Linked DNA regions of Homo sapiens: all the other regions are linked to region 4. Evidence: promoter capture Hi-C in 16 types of primary human blood cells and fetal thymus (Javierre and others, 2016). All regions are on one chromosome and are shown on one strand. The core of a region is centred on a gene start or on the middle of the fragment in contact, and the rest is flanking DNA. Distances in the headings are between cores, read along the strand shown. Region 1 overlaps RCL1 (RNA terminal phosphate cyclase like 1). Region 2 overlaps CDC37L1 (cell division cycle 37 like 1, HSP90 cochaperone). Region 3 overlaps RCL1 (RNA terminal phosphate cyclase like 1). Region 4 holds the start of PLGRKT (plasminogen receptor with a C-terminal lysine). Region 5 has its middle 17 kb from the start of RCL1. Region 6 overlaps AK3 (adenylate kinase 3). Region 7 overlaps CDC37L1 (cell division cycle 37 like 1, HSP90 cochaperone).

Region 1 (2,700 bases), core at 102-2,601, 600 kb after region 4:
ACTTGGGACCTCACAAGTCTCTTCCTGGCTCAGATTCTACACAGGGAAGGTTCCAAGAACATTAGAGGGAGAAGCCAGGGAGGAACATAGTTACACCCAAGGTGCCCGGCACTACAGCTCTTTTAACTTTTATGTTCTCCCCTGGAAAGCCCTTCCCCATTTCCCAGCATCATCATCAAAGGACACGACCATCTGCACACCCAGAGAGAACAAGGGGGACCCCACTGTGATGAAACCCATGTTGTTATGACAAGATTGTGTCAAAACAGAGCACACTGCCAGAAATCACATTTCCAGACTACAGAGACTGGATTCCAAACAAAGTTCACGGCCGCCAATACAGCATTAAGGAAACACATCTCAAATAAGGAGGAAAAAAAACAACTACCCCCCAGACAAACCCAAAATAGTACTGAAAGTGTATTCCTGTACACTTATTGGAATGTATTGGAAAGTGTATTCCTATACACTTATTACACTTTTTTTCACCATTGCCAAAAATGTTGTGGTTAAAGCCATTAACCGCAGTGTATTTGGCAACAGTGAAAAGCAAAAAACAACTCAATGGCCATCAACAGGATTTGATTTTGGGTTCTATATATGGTGGAATACAATGCATCTGTTAATAAGAATGAATTCAAGTAGAAAAGGCACATTTGGTTTCAAAAACACACACCTAGTTACATTGCATTTCCATTTCTTTGTAACCTAATTAACCTTATTCCAGCTCCTCGGATTTGGATACTAGAGTTGAATATCACCTTAGAAAGTCACCTGGGCAATGTAACTATGCATCAACCTGGGGGCTCCTAGGAAAGGAACCATTTCTCCTTTTGCCTGTTCTCTCCTGGTACACACAAGGCTGGGCGCTTACATGGGCTGGGGGACAGCCATGCAGAGAACAGACCATAACCCAGGAAGGCTTTGTTATTATGTATTCCTGTGGTTTTGATGATCCTTAAAAAGAACTTCAGGCAGCAACCCAAGTTTGAGCTTCTATCTTAACCAGCACTCTCTCTGCACATGGCTCTGCAGCCCACCCTACTCCCTGCCCTTCACCACTTACTGTTCAAGCTATTCGAGGCCTCTGAAAAGACAGTCCACGCTACACCTTTCTTCCTCCAAGTAATACCATTGCCAAACCTCCTGAGAACACAAAACCCGACCTTAAGCACCCACCCCCGCCCTGACAAGCAGGCTTTCTGGTCTGCCCTCCTTGTCACACTCCCGCCAGGAAAGTCATCCCACAGCCTGTCTTGCTCTACGGCCTCCAACACCTGCTCCCACCCAGATCCTGTCAGCACCTAGAATTTTACCACTTTTAATATCTGAAATCCCAAAACAAAACTCCCTAAACACAATCTCTTGTCCTACACAGTACATGTATCTATTTCCACTAGATCTGATCTTTAAGCCTGTTAAAGTTTCTCATCCCTTGACCTGCTTTGTCCAGGCTGGTGAGCCCCTGTGACAATCCTCAGTGAGGAATGTACTTCCCAATGCTCCAGCACCCACCCTCCAACTGTCCTCCTGTAGGACCCACCCACCTTGCCAACCTGCATCCAACCTTGGATGAAATTGGTCCTCCCACGTTCTCTACTCCTCCCTCTAGGCTGCCAACTGCCACTGGATATAGCCACATGGCCATGCAGCTGGCACTGTGTTAACATTACACCTTCAGCAAGGACCTTACTGCTGGAACACAGCCTTTTTCTTATCTTCAGTTATGATGCTCCCCTGTGAAGGCACATCTTTACCATCCTTGTCACACTCTCTTATCCTACCCCGCCCATCCCCTTACCCTCAATCCCATCCTAACTCGGTAACAACTGAAAACTCATCCCAACCCCCTTCCACTCACCTCCACACAGCTCTACCTGGAGCCACCCTTACCGTATGCCTGTGGCCTTGAATCCATCCCCTCTCAAGTAAGAATAAAAAGAATAGTAGTAACCATTTACCCAATGCTACTTACACACCAGTGCCTCCTACTGTGCAACTACGATCTCATTTTACCTTCATGACAGTCTCGCACAGCAGTTATAACAGGACTAAAGATATACGGGCAACCAAGGCTTACGGCCAAATGCTTCCATTGGTAAGTGGCGCAGCCGGCGTCGGCACCCACGTCTTTCTGACTCCAGCACCTGGGCTTTTAATCAGCTCATTACTTTGCTTCATCTACATTAACAACCTACAAAAACACTCAAATCCTTACCAATCTTTTTGTAAAAGGGAGGGAGTCTCCCTGACTCTCGCTTCATCAAGTTACTCCCTCATCCTTCCTTCTCCTTCTCTTTCCTGTCAAGGTTCTGTAAAGAGTGGTCCCCACAAGCCGCTGTTTCCCTCCCCTTCACTCCACAACCCAGAATTAGTCCCTTGGGATAGGGATCCAGCACTCTTCCCCAGGGCATCAGTGACAGCCTGCTGCTGAGTCCCTCAGCTTTTCCCCCACCCCAATGCTAACTCCTCAGGGCCTTTTAAAGTGCTGACCTGAGCTTCCAGGAAGCTATGTTTTGTTTATTCTCTTCCCCACTCTTACTTCCCTCCTTACTTAACTCTTGCTTTCAAGTTTTGGTGGCCTCACAGGGTTCCACCCTCCTTTCTTTGCGTTCTGCATAGTATCTGATTCCAGCCACCTTCAGCTCTTCACTGGCCCCTGCCTGTCTTCATGCCCCATTCTACCATCAAATGCCATAG
Region 2 (2,700 bases), core at 101-2,600, 730 kb after region 4:
AAAATAGTGTAGCTGTGCTTAAAGCTTCTGGTAAAAGCCAGTATGCTTTGTAGAGCCCTTATCCCCCTCCTGCTTTTTATTTGTTTTTAGCTCACTAAATAATATAAACACTGATTTTTCCATATATAGCACTGAATAAACTGTCATGCCTAAGTGTAAATCAGTCCAGCACTGTGTCATCTTTTTCTAAAGCATTCCAAGTTAAATGTCTGATGTGTAAATAACATGAAGAATCATGCTGTTAACTGTGTGAAAGATGTGGGAATTTTAATAATCATTTTCTATATTTAGAGATCAAACAAGTCTAATTCTTCAAAGCTTATGAGAATGGTTTCACTTCATATTAGATGGTGAACAATCCATAATGAACTTATATTCACCCTGTGTCCCCCTCCCGACCCCCTTGGCTCACATAGTGAGCAAATAATTTTCAGATAAATCAACTTCTCAGAACTATGCAATTGTATATACATGTCCATTACAGATGAGAGATGGATGGATTTAAGGGTTTTGTTAAAAGTATGTTTGCTATAATGGCAAAATTGAAATGGAAAGCCCATGAAATGGAAAGCCCAACCTCAACCCAGACAAGTACCTCGGTTCTGTCCCACACCAATTTAAGAACTGAAATACATGATTGACTTAGAAAAGTAAACTGACATTTCGTTCTCCTCTGAAAATACCCAAAGGTTAACTTCAGGATCACCTTGCCTAAACCTACAGTCAACTTTTTTCATCCTGTTAGAAAATCCACTTACTAAAACAGATTCATGTTCTTTGGGCAGCATGTTCATTTTCATTTTTAGATGTTGCCAGGCTGGAGTGCAGTGGCGCCATCTTGGCTCACTGCAACCTCTGCCTCCCGGGGTTCAAGCGATTCTCCTGCCTCAGCCTCCTGAGTAACTGGGACTACAGCCACGCGCCACCATGCCCAGCTAATTTTTGTATTTTGGGTAGAGACAGGGTTTCACCATGTTGGCCAGGATGGTCTCGATCTCCTGACCTCAGGATCCACCCGCCTCGGCCTCCCAAAGTGCCGGGATTACAGGCGTAAGCTACTGCGCCCGGCTGTTCATTCATTTTTAAAAGGGTAATAATATGATATGCCAGTCTGAAAGAAGAGGAGGACCTGATTTTCCTAAAGAGAAGTTATAAGAGATTGTGAGCTCATTAGGCAAAATTTGAAAGAGCTCACTAATGGTATAATTGGAAGAGAATGTTACCCATCTACCTAAGAGTAATAATTTTAAGGCAGTATTATCTTCACTACCACTGAAAAAATGACACTGAGTTAACAGAGAATAAATGGACAGCTATTTGATTTAAAAATTTTTTTATTCAAATATTAATTTTATCAAATGAAACAAGAATCTTTGATGATACTTTGATGTAAAAAAATGTTTCATTCATGTGTTTGCACTTTCCATGGTTTAATTTGTTTAGGGTAAATTGTCCAACCTGAAATATAAATTATCCCTTTGCTTAATATACTCTTTATTTCTTCAGAAACAAAAAAAAGGTAGGAATTAGTTCAAGGATGTCAATTTACTGTTTCTAGTACTAAAGTACGGCTAACTATGTAATTTATAGCCTTTAAGTGCAAATTATGGCATCAGTCAGTGGTTCCCACAACAGACCCAATCACACTTTCATACTCAAAACACAGTATATTCTTTTGCAAGTAAAAATATATAAATCAAGTTTCAAAGAACATCTTTTCAGTGCCCCTCAAGAATAGTTTACTCAGTTTGTTGATACTTTCTCTCCTGCCAGTCTTCAGTCATTAAATACCTCTAACTTAGAGAAGGCAAAATGAAATTCAAAACAATTTGAATGCTTACAGGCAAATCCTGGGAAAGAAGGGAAAATAATAATTCAAGTAACATTTCTGTGAAACTAGGAATATGGCTCCTGTGTCTGCCCATTCTCTCAATTTGGTAGAAAGGGAAAAATAAGAGCTTGCTTCAGAACAGAACAAAAAGAAAAAAATGTCTACGACTAGGTCATGGGTTTAAAAAAAAAAAAAGTACAGGCTGACAAACACTACTATATAAATTAGTCAAACATTTTATTATAGAGTATATATTTATATCAAAAGCACAAAAACGTTTATTCTGAAAACCAGGAAGATTGTGATGTTACAGAAGAAGATTCAATAATTCCAGTCCATTTCTAGGGTACTAAGTGTCTGATCACCTCAGCGAAAACAAGATACAAATGAGGCCAAGGTCACAGGTCTGGCCACCCTGAGTCCCTTCGCACTATTTGGTTTCTCAAGTTGAGACACGTATTCCCAGTCCCAGTTAGCCACCTTCCAAGTGTTTGCTACTAGCCTTAATGGGTACTTAGCCAAAGACTACACCCAAATATAACCAAAGCTTATGTTAAGTCATAAGATTAATCCTTCAATAATAAGGATAGCATAATTGGCTTTGTTACCTAATTCTACATAAACAAAATCATCAAATATCCTGGCATAACTGAAATGACTTACAGAGGAAGTAGTAAAGCTTGGAAGTATTCTATGGTAACTGAGCTGAAAAAGGGGAAATGCCAAATGTTGTAAATGCCATCATTACCAATAAGAGTCACCAAATTCTCAGAAATAGGTAATTGGCAGCTCAAGGCAGTTAGCACTACAAGATTTCTCTTGCCTTTAAAAAAAAAATCATTTTTAAGACTCCTTTTTTAAAAGGCTAC
Region 3 (2,700 bases), core at 40-2,539, 620 kb after region 4:
ACCTAAAGGTTCCACACTCTTAGCCACACCACGACACTAGTTTGCCTCTGTTCAGTTTAATTCCTTGGAGCTAACCTCTTCCTCTAGAAAATCATGGTACCTTCAACTATAGGCACTGATCTCTTGAAGGATCTTATAGTTAATTTAATGGATCTCTAATCAACATTAAAAAAAATTAGAACAGAATAAACTACGTTGGAATAACTGTATATACTAAGGATGCTGTTCGTGAAACTTCAGTCTGTTTTACACATATGTGTATGTGTAATAGGTTGTGATGTAAGTAGCATCACAGGAGTTTGAAAGTATCTGAACGACGGAATTGAATTAGAAATTATTTCTACGATCTTTTTAACATTCTTTACAAATCAGGCACAATCTCTACCACAATGCCACTTTCTACTTAGGTTTATAGAAAATCTAACGTGCTCTGCAGAAAAAAGGAAAGCCCTTGATTTGTTCAAACTTTCTAAGTGTCTAAATGGGATAGAGGAACAAGCACCTACAAATAAAGCCTAAGATTAAACCCCACAGATTTTTACAAATTAGAAAAGAAAAAAGGAAGAAACCATGACTTTACTTTCTAGATTTTGTTTTTTGCAATCCACACGGACTCTTACACACAAACAAAACCAGAAACGCCCAGCAGAACAAAAGTAGAAAGAGAATGGGCATAAAGAGAACTCCAGGCAGGACCATCCCTGATCACGGCAAACCGGTGCTTCAGAAGCAGCACTTCAAAGAAGCAGACTCAGAGCTAGTTCCGGAGCCCTGGCAACAGTGAAGATATGACTCCATCACCTGGTACAAGAAAAGATCTCAAGTCCACCTAATAATGGTAAGATCAAAGTCCCCAAACTTTACTAGGCCAACCTGTGTAGAATTCCTTGCCCATTCACCTCCCACACACCCTGCTGACTCCTCTTCTTCAAGACTGCTCCTGGGGCTACAAGATTTCAGGTATCTCAAAACGTTCAGGGAAAAGCTCCAAAAACAAGCACAATTTTACTACACTGTTTATGAATACATAATTAGGTTATAAAACTATAAAGAGAATCAAAGTCAATGCTATAATGGTGAGGATAGTGGCTACCAGTAGAGGCATGGCAAGGAGCTGTAAATAGCTAAAAGATGTACAGATGTTAGCAAAGTTATATTTCTTTTTGTGGATGGGGGGGTCACAAAGGTGTTCATTTTACGATCTCTTATGCACTACTTTTATATCTTATGCATTTTTTTATTTGTACAAATTTGGTGGGCACAAGTGTAGTTGTATTACATGGATATATTGAGTAGTGGTAAAGTTGATAAAGTCTGTGTTTTGTTTTGTTTTGTTTTTGAGACGGAGTCTCGCTCTGTCACCAGGCTGGAGTGCAGTGGCGCGATCTTGGCTCACTGCAACCTCCGCCTCCCGGGTTCAAGCGATTCTCTTGCCTCAGCCTCCCGAGTAGCTGGGACTACAGGCGCGTGCCACCACGCCCAGCTAATTTTTGTATTTTCAGTAGAGATGGGGTTTCACCATGTTGGCCGGGATGGTCTCAATCTCCTGACCTCATGATCCCCCCGCCTCGACCTCCCAAAGTGCTGGGATTACAGGCGTGAGCAAATTCTGTTTTTAATGTACCATCACCAGATAGTGTACATTGATAGTGACCATTTCTGCGGATAAAGAACAAGTGTACATATATGTACATATATTTGCTTATTTATGAAAAAGAAAAAGCCTGGGGAAAAAAACAACAAACTAGTAACACTGTTTAATTCAAAGATTCTCTAAACCAGCACTCTCCAACCTTTTGGCACCAGGGTCCAGTTTCATAGATCAGATCAGTGATGGCATTGGATTCTCATAGGACCATGAACCCTATTGTGAACTGCACATGCAAGGGATCGAGGCTGCTGGCTCCGTGTGAGACTCTAATGCCTGACGATCTGAGGTGGAACAGTTTCATCCTTCAACCATTCTGCCAACCCTGCCCTGTCTGGGGTTGAGGACCCCTGCTCTATAAACCCTTTTATTCCCTTTGAATTTTGTGTCATGTGCATATTTCTTAAAATACACAAAATTTAAATTATAAACAAAACAAAGATATTCCAACATGATTTAAATAGCCAACAAAACTGTTTTCATTAAATGGCCTATGACAGATCTTTATAATACCATGTGCCCCTAAGAAATGCTTTTAAAATAATTATTTAATTATGTGAGGAAAAGTTTAAAAGTTATATATATAATGTGATTTCAATTTCTTTTTCTTTTTTTTTTTTTTTTTGAGACAGAGTCTTGCTGCGTTGCCCAGGCTGGAGTGCACTGGCAAGACCTCAGCTCACTACAACCTCCGCCTCCAGGGTTCAACCAATTCTCCTGCCTCACCCTCCCGAGTAGCTAGGACTACAGGCACGTGCCACCATGTCCAGCTATTTTTAGTAGAGACAGGGTTTCACCATGCCGGACAGGATGGTCTTGATCTCCTGACCTCGTGATCCGCCTGCCTCAGCCTCCCAAAGTGCTGGGATTACAGGCGTGAGCCACCTAGCCCGGCCGGATTTCAATTTCTTTAGCGAATAACCAGAAGACAAGACAGTGAGCTGTTAACATGCAAAATTAGGAGTCATTCCTTTCCTCATTAAATCCAAAGAGGTAGACATTGCAAACACATACTCAATTCTTGGAATAAATTAAGACATCCACTCACTTGC
Region 4 (2,700 bases), core at 141-2,640:
ACAAAAAAAAGAAATGGTGTGCTGGATATTTTCTATTTCTCCCTCCAGGCATTGTGCCTAGTAGGCTGACCTCTACAGACTACACAGACCTAGCTCCACTGTCTTCTGGCTTCCTGGTGGATCCAGCCAGCGGAAGACCCCAGCTGGATATCAGAGCTGGGAGAACAGAGAGGTGGGTCTTCTCCACTCTGTCCCTGCTTTGGGCTGACGTCTCAGCACTGGCTACAACTATAGAATCTCACCTTACTTGGTGAAAAGTTGGCATTGCTTGCTTTCCTCTACTGAACGACACGGTTCCAGTTGGTTACTCTCTCGTACAGCCACAGCTACCGCTCTCGCTCTCGCCTGGTTTTAGTAACTGCTTCCTTCCCCCACCCCTCAGCCCTATAGTTACTAACAGCTCCCCGCTGTTACTGGTTACTACTGGTTACGGAAGGCGAACTATGTGCCCGACACTGTGCTAAATGCCCACATATATTATCTTTTAGTCCTCACAATCCAATAAATTAGATGGCTTTAGTCCTGTTGCAGAGGTGATAAATTCAGAGTGACAGTGACAGAGCTAGAAATTGAAGGTAGGTGTGTTTATGCTAGAGTCTGTGCACTCAAACACGATTCCTTACTTCTTGCATCAGTTGTTAACCTCCCTTCAAGAGTGTCAAACCTCCTGGTAACCCGCCCATTCCCTTAACTGGAAATGAGGGTGCTGTTGCAATTTTCTCATCCAGCCATTCCACAAATGGTATCTGGAATGTGGGACCCACAGTCCAGAATCCTGAGGGCTGCTGTTGAGAGCATCAAGACGCGCCCAGGAGGTCAGGGCGGTGTGCACTCACACGCTGAGCCTGGAGAAAGTTAGACGCCTTCTCCACCGCTGTGGTGGTTAGCAGGGACTTTCCTGAAGGCCAGAGACTGGTGACGTTCATGCTATTTTTCCAAGCCATTTGGTAGCAAAGAACAGAGTGCCAACAATTCAAGCATTCTCTCAGGCTGGGAGAGAGACGTGGCTTATTCAAGATAGAAATTGCTGGTGAGGTTGAGGCGAGACCGACATCTCTCTGAGCAGCAGGGGAGAAAGACGGCTCTGTTCAAAAAAGAATGGGTAATTTCAGTCAATTCTCTTCTTTCTCGTTTCTGTCTTATCTTTATGACTTTTTAATAGTGCCAATTTAACAGATGAGGGGACAGAGGCCTTTAATTGAGAATTCCACTCCGCTTCCTCTGCCTCATCTCAAAAATCTGGCAGCTGAGTCGCCGCGGCTTTGAATTTGCCTCTTTTGACCTTCCCCTCCCACCTCTGGTAACACTGAGCCTGGCCCGGAAGGACACACCCGGCTTCTGGCGGAAGTGCCGGCTCTTTAAAGAAGCTGAGGGCTGCGCGAATTGGCTGAGGTGCGTCATCTACTGTGTCTGGGCGCCAATCCCGACGCTGGGCGGAGCGAGGCCCGGTCCCTGCAGCGGGCGAAAGGAGCCCGGGCCTGGAGGTTTGCGTACCGGTCGCCTGGTCCCGGCACCAGCGCCGCCCAGTGAGTGAACACCGGCCGCAGGCGGGTGGGGAGAAGGGTCAGCCCGGCCATGTCAGTCAGCGCGATCTCCTGGGCTCCGGGCTTGCCAGGCAGCGCTGGGCGCCCGCTCCTCGTGAGCGCCGGCTCTTGGCTCTCGCACTGCCCCTGGTGCTGATAGGTATTGCCAACTTCGTTCCATTAGAGCGCGTTCTTGTCGCCTGGCGTGGACTCCGGATCTCTCCGTAGCTTTAAAATAGAGTTGAGAAAAACAGGCACAGTGCTCTCAACAGAAATCAGCACACTATTGCGGGGAATACCTAAATTACAGTAACTGGCCTCAGGGAGCAAGGGCGGTGTTAATTACAGAAAACCTCCGGAAGCTGTGGGCTCTGGGCTGGAATTTGCAAGGGGATGTGGCTTAATTTCAATGGGATGCAAATATTGAAAATGACTGTGGTGAGACGATCAGTCATACATTCAGGCAATGTGTCATCTGATCGGGAAATAAGTCAGCGTGGTAATCCCGATGACAGAATTCATGCAATTAATTTTTTATGTCCCCCCAAGTAAAATCAAATCTAGGTACTCACGGGTGACCGGAAGAAAGGTTGTCTGGAACTTGCAGGCACCACTTCTCCTCCCCAGAAATACACCTTCCCATAGTAATCTATAGCTCACCTGAGGCAGGGCTGAAGCATTAAAGACCCCTTCCAAGATCTCAGAAGGAATCAAAGGGAAAATGAAGACAGAGGGATTGAAATCAGCATTCTCTGCAAAACATCACTCTGAGACACAGTGATGTTTAAAATTGTATAAGTAGCAAGACATTTTTTTTTACCCCTGGTGAAAAGTGTTAGAATTTTTAAAAGACTTAACTTATACAAGTGAGTGAAATCAAAGTTATCCCTATTGCAAGGTCAATTTTGCTTATTTTCTGATACATATTTTGTGAGCAAGAGGAGATAGCTGAAAGTGTTCTGGACACCCTACGGAATATTCCCAGACTTTGGGAAATGACTTTGCCAGGAATGGGGAAGTTGGGAAAGGAAAGAATGTTGAAAATACTGAACTCCAGGGTGAAATTTACAAGGTGTGATGCATTTATTTATTCTCAGGTGTGGTTTCCCATAAGGAAGCTCTTCTTCCTGCTTGGCTTCCACCTTTAACCCTTCCACCTGGGAGCGTCCTCTAACAC
Region 5 (2,700 bases), core at 177-2,676, 660 kb after region 4:
GGGCTTAAGGTATATTTCTCTATTTAAAGAAAGCCAGGCCAGGTGTAGTGGCTCACACCTGTATTCCCAACACTTTGGGAGGCCGAGGTGGGCAGATCACCTGAGGTCAGGAGTTCGAGACCCGCCTGGCCAACATAGCGAAACCCCGCCTCTACAAAAAAATACAAAAATTATCCGGGCATGGTGGGAGGTGCCTATAATCCACCTGGGAGTCTGAGGCAAATAAAAAAAGAAGGAAAGAAAGTTCAAAATAAAGAAAGAAAAAATGTTCAAAGAAAGAAAGATCAAAAGAAAGAAAGTTCAAAAAAAAAGAAAGTTCAAAAGAAAGAAAGTTCAAAATAAAGACAAAGAATGTTCAAAATAAAGTTCAAAATAACGTTTAAAAGAAAGAAAGTTATGTTCAAAATAAGAGTATCATATTGGTAGTTATACTGATAATAAAAGTTATTATCTGTAATCTTATATAAAGTATAGAAGAGTAAATTTTGTCCTGAGCATATTTTATTAGTGCCTTTCTGTTCTCTGCTGCCTAGGGAGACTAGATATAGCAAGATCACTGCTTTATTTATTTATTCAGAGCTGGGGTCTTGCTCTGTCACCCAGGCTGGAGTGCAGTGTCATAATGATAGCTCACTGCAGCCTCAAACTCCTGGGCTCATGCGATCCCAAGTAGCTTGTACTACAGGCACACGCCATCGTGCATAGCTAATTCTTGTTATATTTTTTGAAGATGGATCTTGTTATATTGCCCAGGCTGGTCTCAAACTCCTGGCCTCAAACAGTCCTCCTGCCTCAGCCTCCCGAGTAGCTGAGATTACAGGCATGAGCCACTGTACCCCACCTCATGGTAAATTAAATGTCTGTTCAGAGGACTGAACAATTTCACTGCTGGTGAGAGACAAGAAGGAGGTTTTCTTAGAATTTTTTAAACTTTAAACATGTGCTTGGCATGGCATGCCTGGGAGCTTTGAATTCAGGTAGGTCATTCCTTTCCTTGTTGGATGTCTTCCTCCACCATAAGCTATCTGCAAGCTAGATTCCCAGAAAGGCCAATGGTGTAGTTTAGTCCACGTCTGAAGGTTTGACAGCCGGAGGCTCAAAGGTCCAAGGGCAGGAGAAGATGGTTAGCCTAGCTCAAGCGTGAAAGATCAAATTTGTCTTTCCTGTGACCTTTTGTTCTATTTGGGTCCTCAGCGCATTGGATGAGGCCCACCCACATTGGTGAGGGAGATGTTCTTTACTTAGTCTACTAATTCCAATGTTAGTCTCTTCTGGAAACATTCTCACAGACACACTCATAAATAATGCTGCTGTTGTTGAGACAGGGTCTTGCTGTGTTGTCCATGCTGGAGTGCAGTGGCACAATCTTGACTCACTGCTGCCTTGACCTCCTGGGATCAAGCAATTCGCCCACCTCAGCCTCCCAAGTACCTGGGACTACAGGCATGTGTCACTATGCCCAGCTATTAATAATTTTTTTGTATTTTTTGTAGAGACGAGGTTCCACCATGTTGTCCAGGCTGGTCTCAAACTCCTGAGCTCAAGCAATCTGCCTGCCTCAGCATCCCAAAGTGCTGGGATTACAGACATGAGGCACCATGCCGGGCCAATAATGTTATCTGGGCATCCATTAACCCAGTCAAGCTGACACATAAAATAAACCATCACAATATAAGTCAAATCATTTTGCATTCTCACCTGCAACATAGGAAATTACCTCTTTTTCCACAATGTCACTAAAAAAGTATACTGTTTAACGTTCATATGTTTGCCAGTCTGACAGGTGATAAATGAGATTTCTGTGTATTTTTCATTGACCAAAAACTTTCTCTCTCAAAAAAAGGACATAATTTCAAAATACAATATAGCCCTTTGAATTGAATACATTTAGATTTATGCAAACCTCACTACATGTTCACATTTTTATCATTTTTCTCTAGGCTGGTGAAGACTTGTTCACAGATCAGCATCAGTCTGAAGAATATAGAAACCATTGCTCTGGCCAGTGCTTCTCAACCACACAGATAATATAATAATATTTGTAAGCACTCTCGAGTAGAAGAGTGAGGATGCTCATCACCAAAGACAGCAGGCTTAAGAGTCTGACCACCCCAAGACTCTGCCTCGCCATCCCAAAGAGAAGACCTTTAATATTTCCACACATCTGGAATCCATACCTGTTGCAAATCTCTGTATTAGAAACCCAACCCAGTCCATGATACATGGATTCTTGTTAGTGTTCATCTCAGAAGTATGCCTTTTCCTTACATTGAGTTAGGACTACATCTTCCTCTGGGGACTTTTGTCCTCTAACTGCAGTAATACTGAAACAACTTAAGAGGACAAAGACCAAATCGTTTTCAAGCCCCATGAAGCATTTCAAAAGTTCTACTCACAACAGGCCCCGGTGTGTGATGTTCCCCTTCCTGTGTCCATGTGTTCTCATTGTTCAATTCCCACCCATGAGTGAGAACATGCGGTGTTTGGTTTTTTGTCCTTGCAATAGTTTGCTGAGAATGATAGTTTCCAGCTTCATCCATGTCCCTACAAAGGACATGAACTCATCATTTTTTATGGCTGCATAGTATTCCATGGTGTCTATGTGCCACAGAGTGGGGAGGGATAGCATTAGGAGATGTACCTAATGCTAAATGACGAGTTAATGGGTGCAGCACACCAACATGGCACATGTATACATAT
Region 6 (2,700 bases), core at 1-2,500, 710 kb after region 4:
TATATGTATGTATATATGTATGTATATATTTATATGTATGTATATATATAAGTATGTGTATATATATGTATGTGTGTGTGTGTGTGTATATATATATATATATATATATATATATATATATGTAGAGACATGGTCTTGCTGTGTTGCCCAGGCTGGTCTTGAACTCCTGGCCTCAAGTGAAACTCCTTCCTTGGCCTCCCAAAGTGCTGGGATTGCAGGTGTGAATCACCACACAGGGCTTGGTAACTGTGTTCAACCTTTAAAAAAACTACCACACTGTTTTACAAATTGGCTACACCATTTTATAATGCTACCAGCAATATATGAGGGTTACAGTTTCTCCACATTCTTACCAACACTTGTTTTTATTTATTTTTTTGTTTGAGACACAGTTTCACTCTGTTGCCCAGGCTGGAGTGCAGTGGCAGCTATTCAGGTCACTGAAACCTCCGCCTCCCAGGTTCAAGCACTTCTCCTGCCTCAGCCTCCCAGGTAGCTGGGACTACAGGCATGCACCACCACACCCAGCTAATTTTTGTATTACTAGTAGAGACAGGGTTTCACCATTTTGGTCAGGCTGGTCTCGAACTCCTGACCTCAAGTGATGCGCCTGCCTCGGCCTCCCAAAGTGCCGGGATTACAGGCATGAGCCATTGTGCCTGGCCTAACACTTGTTTTTAAAGGCATATGTTGTTTTATTGTGCTTCACAGGTACTGTATCTTTTTTTACAAATCTAAGTTTTGTGGCAACTCTGTGTCAAGCAAGGCTATTGGCCCCATTTTCCCAACAAGTACGCACTTCCCATTTCTATTTTACATTTTTAGTAACTTTTGCAATATTTAAAATATTTTCATTATTATTATATCTGTTAAAGTGATCTGTGATCAGTGATCTTTGATGTTACTATTATAATTGTTTTGGGGTGCCATGAACTATACCCATATAAGATGGCAAACTTAATTGATAAATGTTATGTGTGTTCTGACTGTTCCACTAACCAGCCATTCCCTTGTCTCTCTCTCCTCGAGCTTCCCTATTCCCTGAGACACAACAATATTGAAATTAGGCCAACTAATAACCCTACAGTGGCCTCTAAGTGTTCAAGTTAAAGGAAGAGAGTGGCACATCTCTCACTTTAAATCAAAAGCTAGAAATGATTAAGCTTAGTGAGGAAGGCATGCTGAAAACCAAGACAGGCTGAAACCAGGCTTCTTGCACCAGTTAGCCAAGTTGTAAGTGCAAAGGAAGACCTTGAAGGAAATTAAAAGTGCTGCTCCAGTAAACACTGGAGCACAAGAAAGCAAAACAACCTTGTTGTTGATATGGAGAAAGCTTGAGTGGTCTAGAAAGAAGATCAGACCAGCCACATCATCCATTAAGCCAAAGCCCAGTCCAGAGCAAGGCCCTAATTCTCTTCATTTCAGTGAAGGCTGAGAGATGTGTTGAAGCTGCAGAATAAAAATTTGAAGCTAGCAGAGGTTGGTTCATGAGGTTTAAGGAAAGAAGCCGTCTCTATAACAGGAAAGTGCAAGTGCTGATGTAGAAGCTGCAGCAAGGTATCCAGAAAATCTAGCTAAGATCATTGATGAAGGTGTCTACACTAACAGATTTTCAATGTAAACGAAACAGCCTTCTATTGGAAAAAGATGCCATCTAGGACTTCCATTGCTGGAGAAGAGAAGTCAATGCTTGACTTCAAAGCTTCAAAGGACAGGCTGACTCTCTTGCTAGGGACTAATGCAGCTGGTGACTTTAAGTTGAAGCCAATGCTCATTTACCATTCCAAAAATCCGAGGGTCTTGAGAATTATCTAAATCTACCCTGCCTGTGCTCTGTAAATGGAATGACAAAGCCTGGATGACAGCACATCGGTTTATAGCATGGTTTACTGACTATTTGAAGCCCACTGTTGAGAACTATTGTTGAGAGAAAAAGATTCGTTTGAAAGTATTACTGCTCATTGACAATGCACCTGGTCACCCAAAAGCTCTGCTGGAGATGTACACGGAAATTCATGTTGTTTTCATGCCTGCTGACACAACATCCATTCTGTAGCCCACGCATCAAGGAGTAATTTCAACTCTCAAGTTTTGTTATTTAAAAAACACATTTCATAAGGTTCAGCTGCTATATAGATAGTGATTCCTCTGATGGATTTGGGCAAAGTAAATAGAAAAACTTAGGGAAAGGATGCGCCATTCTAGATGCCAGGAAGAACACTCATGATTCAGGAAGAAGGTCAAAGTGTCAACATTAACAGGAGTTTGGAAGAAGTTGATTCCAACCCTCATGGATGACTTTAAGGGGTTCAAGCCTTCAGTGTAGGAAGTAACTACACATATGGTGGAAATAGCAAGAGAACTAGAATTAGAAGTGCAGCCTGAAGATGTAACTGGATTGCTGCAATCTCATAAAACTTGAATGGATGAGGAGTTGCTTTTAATGAATGAGCAAAGAACGTGGTTTCTTGAGGTAGAATCTAGTCCTGGTGAAGATGCTGTGAGCATTATTCAACTGGCAACGAGGGATTTAGAATATGACTTAAACTTAGTTGAAAAAGGAGCAGCGGGTCTGAGAGGATAGACTACAGTTTTGAAAGAAGTTCTACTGTGGATAAAATACTATCACACAACACTGCATGCTACAGAGAAGTTTTTGGTGAAAAGAAGAGTCAGTTGATGAGACAGACTTTACTGTTG
Region 7 (2,700 bases), core at 148-2,647, 750 kb after region 4:
AAAGTTTATTTATTATGAAGAATTTTTAAAATCCGGAAAATAAAAGTTAGCTGTAATTCTACCACAAGAGATTACTGTTAACATTTTGATGTATTTCCTTCCAGGCATATTTTTGAATGACTTTTTAAAAAACCAAAATTAAGGCTCAGAGTGGTGGCTCACGCCTGTAATCCCAGCACTTTGAGAGGCCGAGGCGGGCGGATCATTTGAGGTCAGGAGTTCAAGGCCAGCCTGGCCAACATGGTGAAACCCCATCTCTACTAAAAATACAAAAATTAGCCAGGCGTGGTAGCAGGCGCCTGTAATCCCAGCTACTCGGGAGGCTGAGGCAGCAGGAACGCTTGAACCCGGGAGGCGGAGGTTGCAGTGAGCTGAGATCACACCACTGTACTCCAGCCTGGGGGACAAGAGCGAGATTTCGTCTCAAAAAAAAAAAAAACATTAAAATCATATACATTTTCTATTCATTTCACTTCATATGTAAGAGTGCTTTATATTAAATGTTTTTCAAAAATAAGATATTGATATGTTTTTTAAAAGCAATGAACAATTACATTGAAGAGGTTGTAAATATTCATAGTCAGAACAAACGAAAAAACTTCTATCATAGTATTTGAGCAAACTTTTATAGCTCTTGGTAAAATTTCCAGTGACAACATCCTACACAGATTAAAAAAAGCTGAATCACAGCTAACTTTGGCTGAAAGTGAAGATGATGTGCTCTGAAAATTAGATGACTCAAAAAGCAGCTCTGATGACCATAAAGCCAGTGATGTCAAACATGCATATAACTGTGAATATAACGGTTGTGAAATTTAAGAGATAAAAGCCTTTGTTTTTAAATTAATATTTTATATTTATAAAACGTGAATTAACTAAATTAATAAACTAAATACAAATGTAGAGGAAAAAGTCAGATTTCAATGCTTTATAATAGTCCATGATATATTGTACCATTTACCACTAGGTGGTAAATTCCACCTAATTGTAAGGGTAAAAGCAGCACAAGAAAGGCAGTCAACAAATTGTATAAGGGAAAAGTTAGGAAAAACTCTGAAGAATATAAGTACAAATAAGACCACAGAGAAACATGGGTGTAAAGCCCCTATAGCCCTATACAGCCCCCACACACACCAGGCCCGTGTCAACCAAGAGTCCAGAATGCAATCCAAGTCCAGAAAGCCTCCAACTGGAAGCTTTAATTACATCTCCTATTGCAGATGTGTTTAGAAGAGTATACCAGAAGCCATTATCCTAAGCAAACTAACAAAGGAACAGAAAACCAAATACCGCATATTCTCACCTATAAGCGGGAGCTAAATGATGAGAATACATGCACACATAAAGGGGAACAACACACACTGGAGTTTACCGAAGGGCGGAGGGTGGGAGGATCAGGAAAAATAACTAATGAATACTAGGCTTAATACCTGGGTGATGTAATAATCTGTACAACAAATCCCCAAGACACACGCTTACCTATGTAACAAACCTGCACATCCTGCACATGTACCCCTGAATTTAAAACAAAAGTTAAACAACAACAAAAAAACAAAATAAAGGAGTATACCAATATAGTCATCATTTTGGTAAGCTTTCTTCTTTCATCACAATAAGCATACAACAGAAATCTTCCATCAAGCAGGCATAGCCACAAATTTTCACTGTCTTGTGTCACACCTCTATCAACTCTGTGCCATAATTCAGTCCACAGGGATTATTATCTCATCATTCCCCATGACTACAAGTTGGTCCACTCTCCACTGATGGAACTTGGTAAAGCAGAAATTGCAGGTATTCCAGGTCTCTTGTTAAGATATATCTATTCCAGAGTGGGAAATAAAACACATGAACATTTTGAGAGCCTACTACCTTTGTAACATTCCTGGGGATCCAGTGTGCTGTGGCAAGTAATATATCTCCTTTGAAGTTAAAGACAACATGCATTTTCAGTAAGAAACAGGCACATTGTGACTCTGGGAATGGCTATTGGTCTGGCTGGGTGTGAAAACAGCAAGGCTCTGATATTTATTACAAGATAGTATATTGGAAGTTCACAACACGTAACAGCAAAATGATTGCTTATTAATCACCTGTGGATGTTAAGTCAGTTTTTTTCCTCAACTATCTCATTATTTGCACAATAGTTTCATAAATTCAGGGGTCGTGGTGGCATAGGTTTGTGATTATGCATAGATTCGACAGTGTAGACTCTCCCCTCAAGGATGTTCTAGTATCCTAATCCAGTTTAGCCACTGAACACCTAATTTACTAGTAGCGAAAAACACCAAAATCTCAATACGGCACAATGCACTGCAGAGATCAGCCAGCCATCAAGTAGCAGGTTGACTACCCTGGTCCCACTTCATCTCAGAGGGACTGGTAATTCCTCACTTGAACGAGCCCACTCTAGATGTGGAAGTGCCCTCCCTCCTTGCCATGCTTCTAATCAGTAATACATCTGTAGTCTTACTAAATGAATTATTCACCATACCACACTATTTTTTGACCCAGAAACTCATTTTACAGCAAAAGAAATGAAGACTGTAGGGTTCATGAAATTCACTGTTCTCATCACGAACATCACTACCCAGAAGCAGGTTTTATAAAATGCTGAAGATACATAGTGCCAGATGGGTTACAACACTTTGTGATATTTGGATATTTTCCTACACAAAATTGCTTCTGAACAAGGCACTC

Evidence for each region. Contacts are between HindIII fragments. The CHiCAGO score rates a contact against its expected background, and 5 or more counts as called.
Region 1: a contact is called between a fragment that was not itself captured here and the fragment with the promoter of PLGRKT in region 4, in 1 of 17 cell types (neutrophils). The highest score is 5.6, in neutrophils.
Region 2: a contact is called between a fragment that was not itself captured here and the fragment with the promoter of PLGRKT in region 4, in 1 of 17 cell types (erythroblasts). The highest score is 5.8, in erythroblasts.
Region 3: a fragment that was not itself captured here is called in contact with the fragment with the promoter of PLGRKT in region 4 in 1 of 17 cell types (neutrophils); the score reaches 5.6 in neutrophils.
Region 5: a contact is called between a fragment that was not itself captured here and the fragment with the promoter of PLGRKT in region 4, in 1 of 17 cell types (neutrophils). The highest score is 8.3, in neutrophils.
Region 6: a fragment that was not itself captured here is called in contact with the fragment with the promoter of PLGRKT in region 4 in 1 of 17 cell types (erythroblasts); the score reaches 5.0 in erythroblasts.
Region 7: a fragment that was not itself captured here is called in contact with the fragment with the promoter of PLGRKT in region 4 in 1 of 17 cell types (neutrophils); the score reaches 6.0 in neutrophils.

The regions. Positions count from the first base shown.
Region 1 is chr9:4,835,131-4,837,830 of GRCh38, reverse strand. The region is part of intron 5 of RCL1 (RNA terminal phosphate cyclase like 1); the gene reads right to left. Among named protein-coding and RNA genes, the nearest start is that of MIR101-2, 14 kb to the left of the region's middle. The HindIII fragment of the contact is 3,218 bases long and covers 1-2,700 here.
Region 2 is chr9:4,707,016-4,709,715 of GRCh38, reverse strand. CDC37L1 (cell division cycle 37 like 1, HSP90 cochaperone) reads right to left here. Exons shown (of 7, transcript NM_017913.4): 7 at 1,317-2,700. AK3 (adenylate kinase 3) reads left to right here. Exons shown (of 5, transcript NM_016282.4): 5 at 1-160. Among named protein-coding and RNA genes, the nearest start is that of CDC37L1, 29 kb to the right of the region's middle. The HindIII fragment of the contact is 2,060 bases long and covers 321-2,380 here.
Region 3 is chr9:4,818,445-4,821,144 of GRCh38, reverse strand. The region is part of intron 1 of RCL1 (RNA terminal phosphate cyclase like 1); the gene reads right to left. Among named protein-coding and RNA genes, the nearest start is that of RCL1, 27 kb to the right of the region's middle. The HindIII fragment of the contact is 7,813 bases long and covers 1-2,700 here.
Region 4 is chr9:5,436,615-5,439,314 of GRCh38, reverse strand. PLGRKT (plasminogen receptor with a C-terminal lysine) reads left to right here and starts at 1,390. Exons shown (of 6, transcript NM_018465.4): 1 at 1,390-1,526; 2 at 2,621-2,700. RefSeq lists enhancers at 24-183, 1,744-1,833, 889-2,088. The HindIII fragment of the contact is 16,310 bases long and covers 1-2,700 here.
Region 5 is chr9:4,775,065-4,777,764 of GRCh38, reverse strand. No RefSeq gene overlaps it. Among named protein-coding and RNA genes, the nearest start is that of RCL1, 17 kb to the left of the region's middle. The HindIII fragment of the contact is 6,914 bases long and covers 1-2,700 here.
Region 6 is chr9:4,726,254-4,728,953 of GRCh38, reverse strand. All of the region lies in intron 1 of AK3 (adenylate kinase 3), which reads left to right. Among named protein-coding and RNA genes, the nearest start is that of AK3, 14 kb to the left of the region's middle. The HindIII fragment of the contact is 170 bases long and covers 1,166-1,335 here.
Region 7 is chr9:4,690,012-4,692,711 of GRCh38, reverse strand. All of the region lies in intron 3 of CDC37L1 (cell division cycle 37 like 1, HSP90 cochaperone), which reads right to left. Among named protein-coding and RNA genes, the nearest start is that of CDC37L1, 12 kb to the right of the region's middle. The HindIII fragment of the contact is 398 bases long and covers 1,199-1,596 here.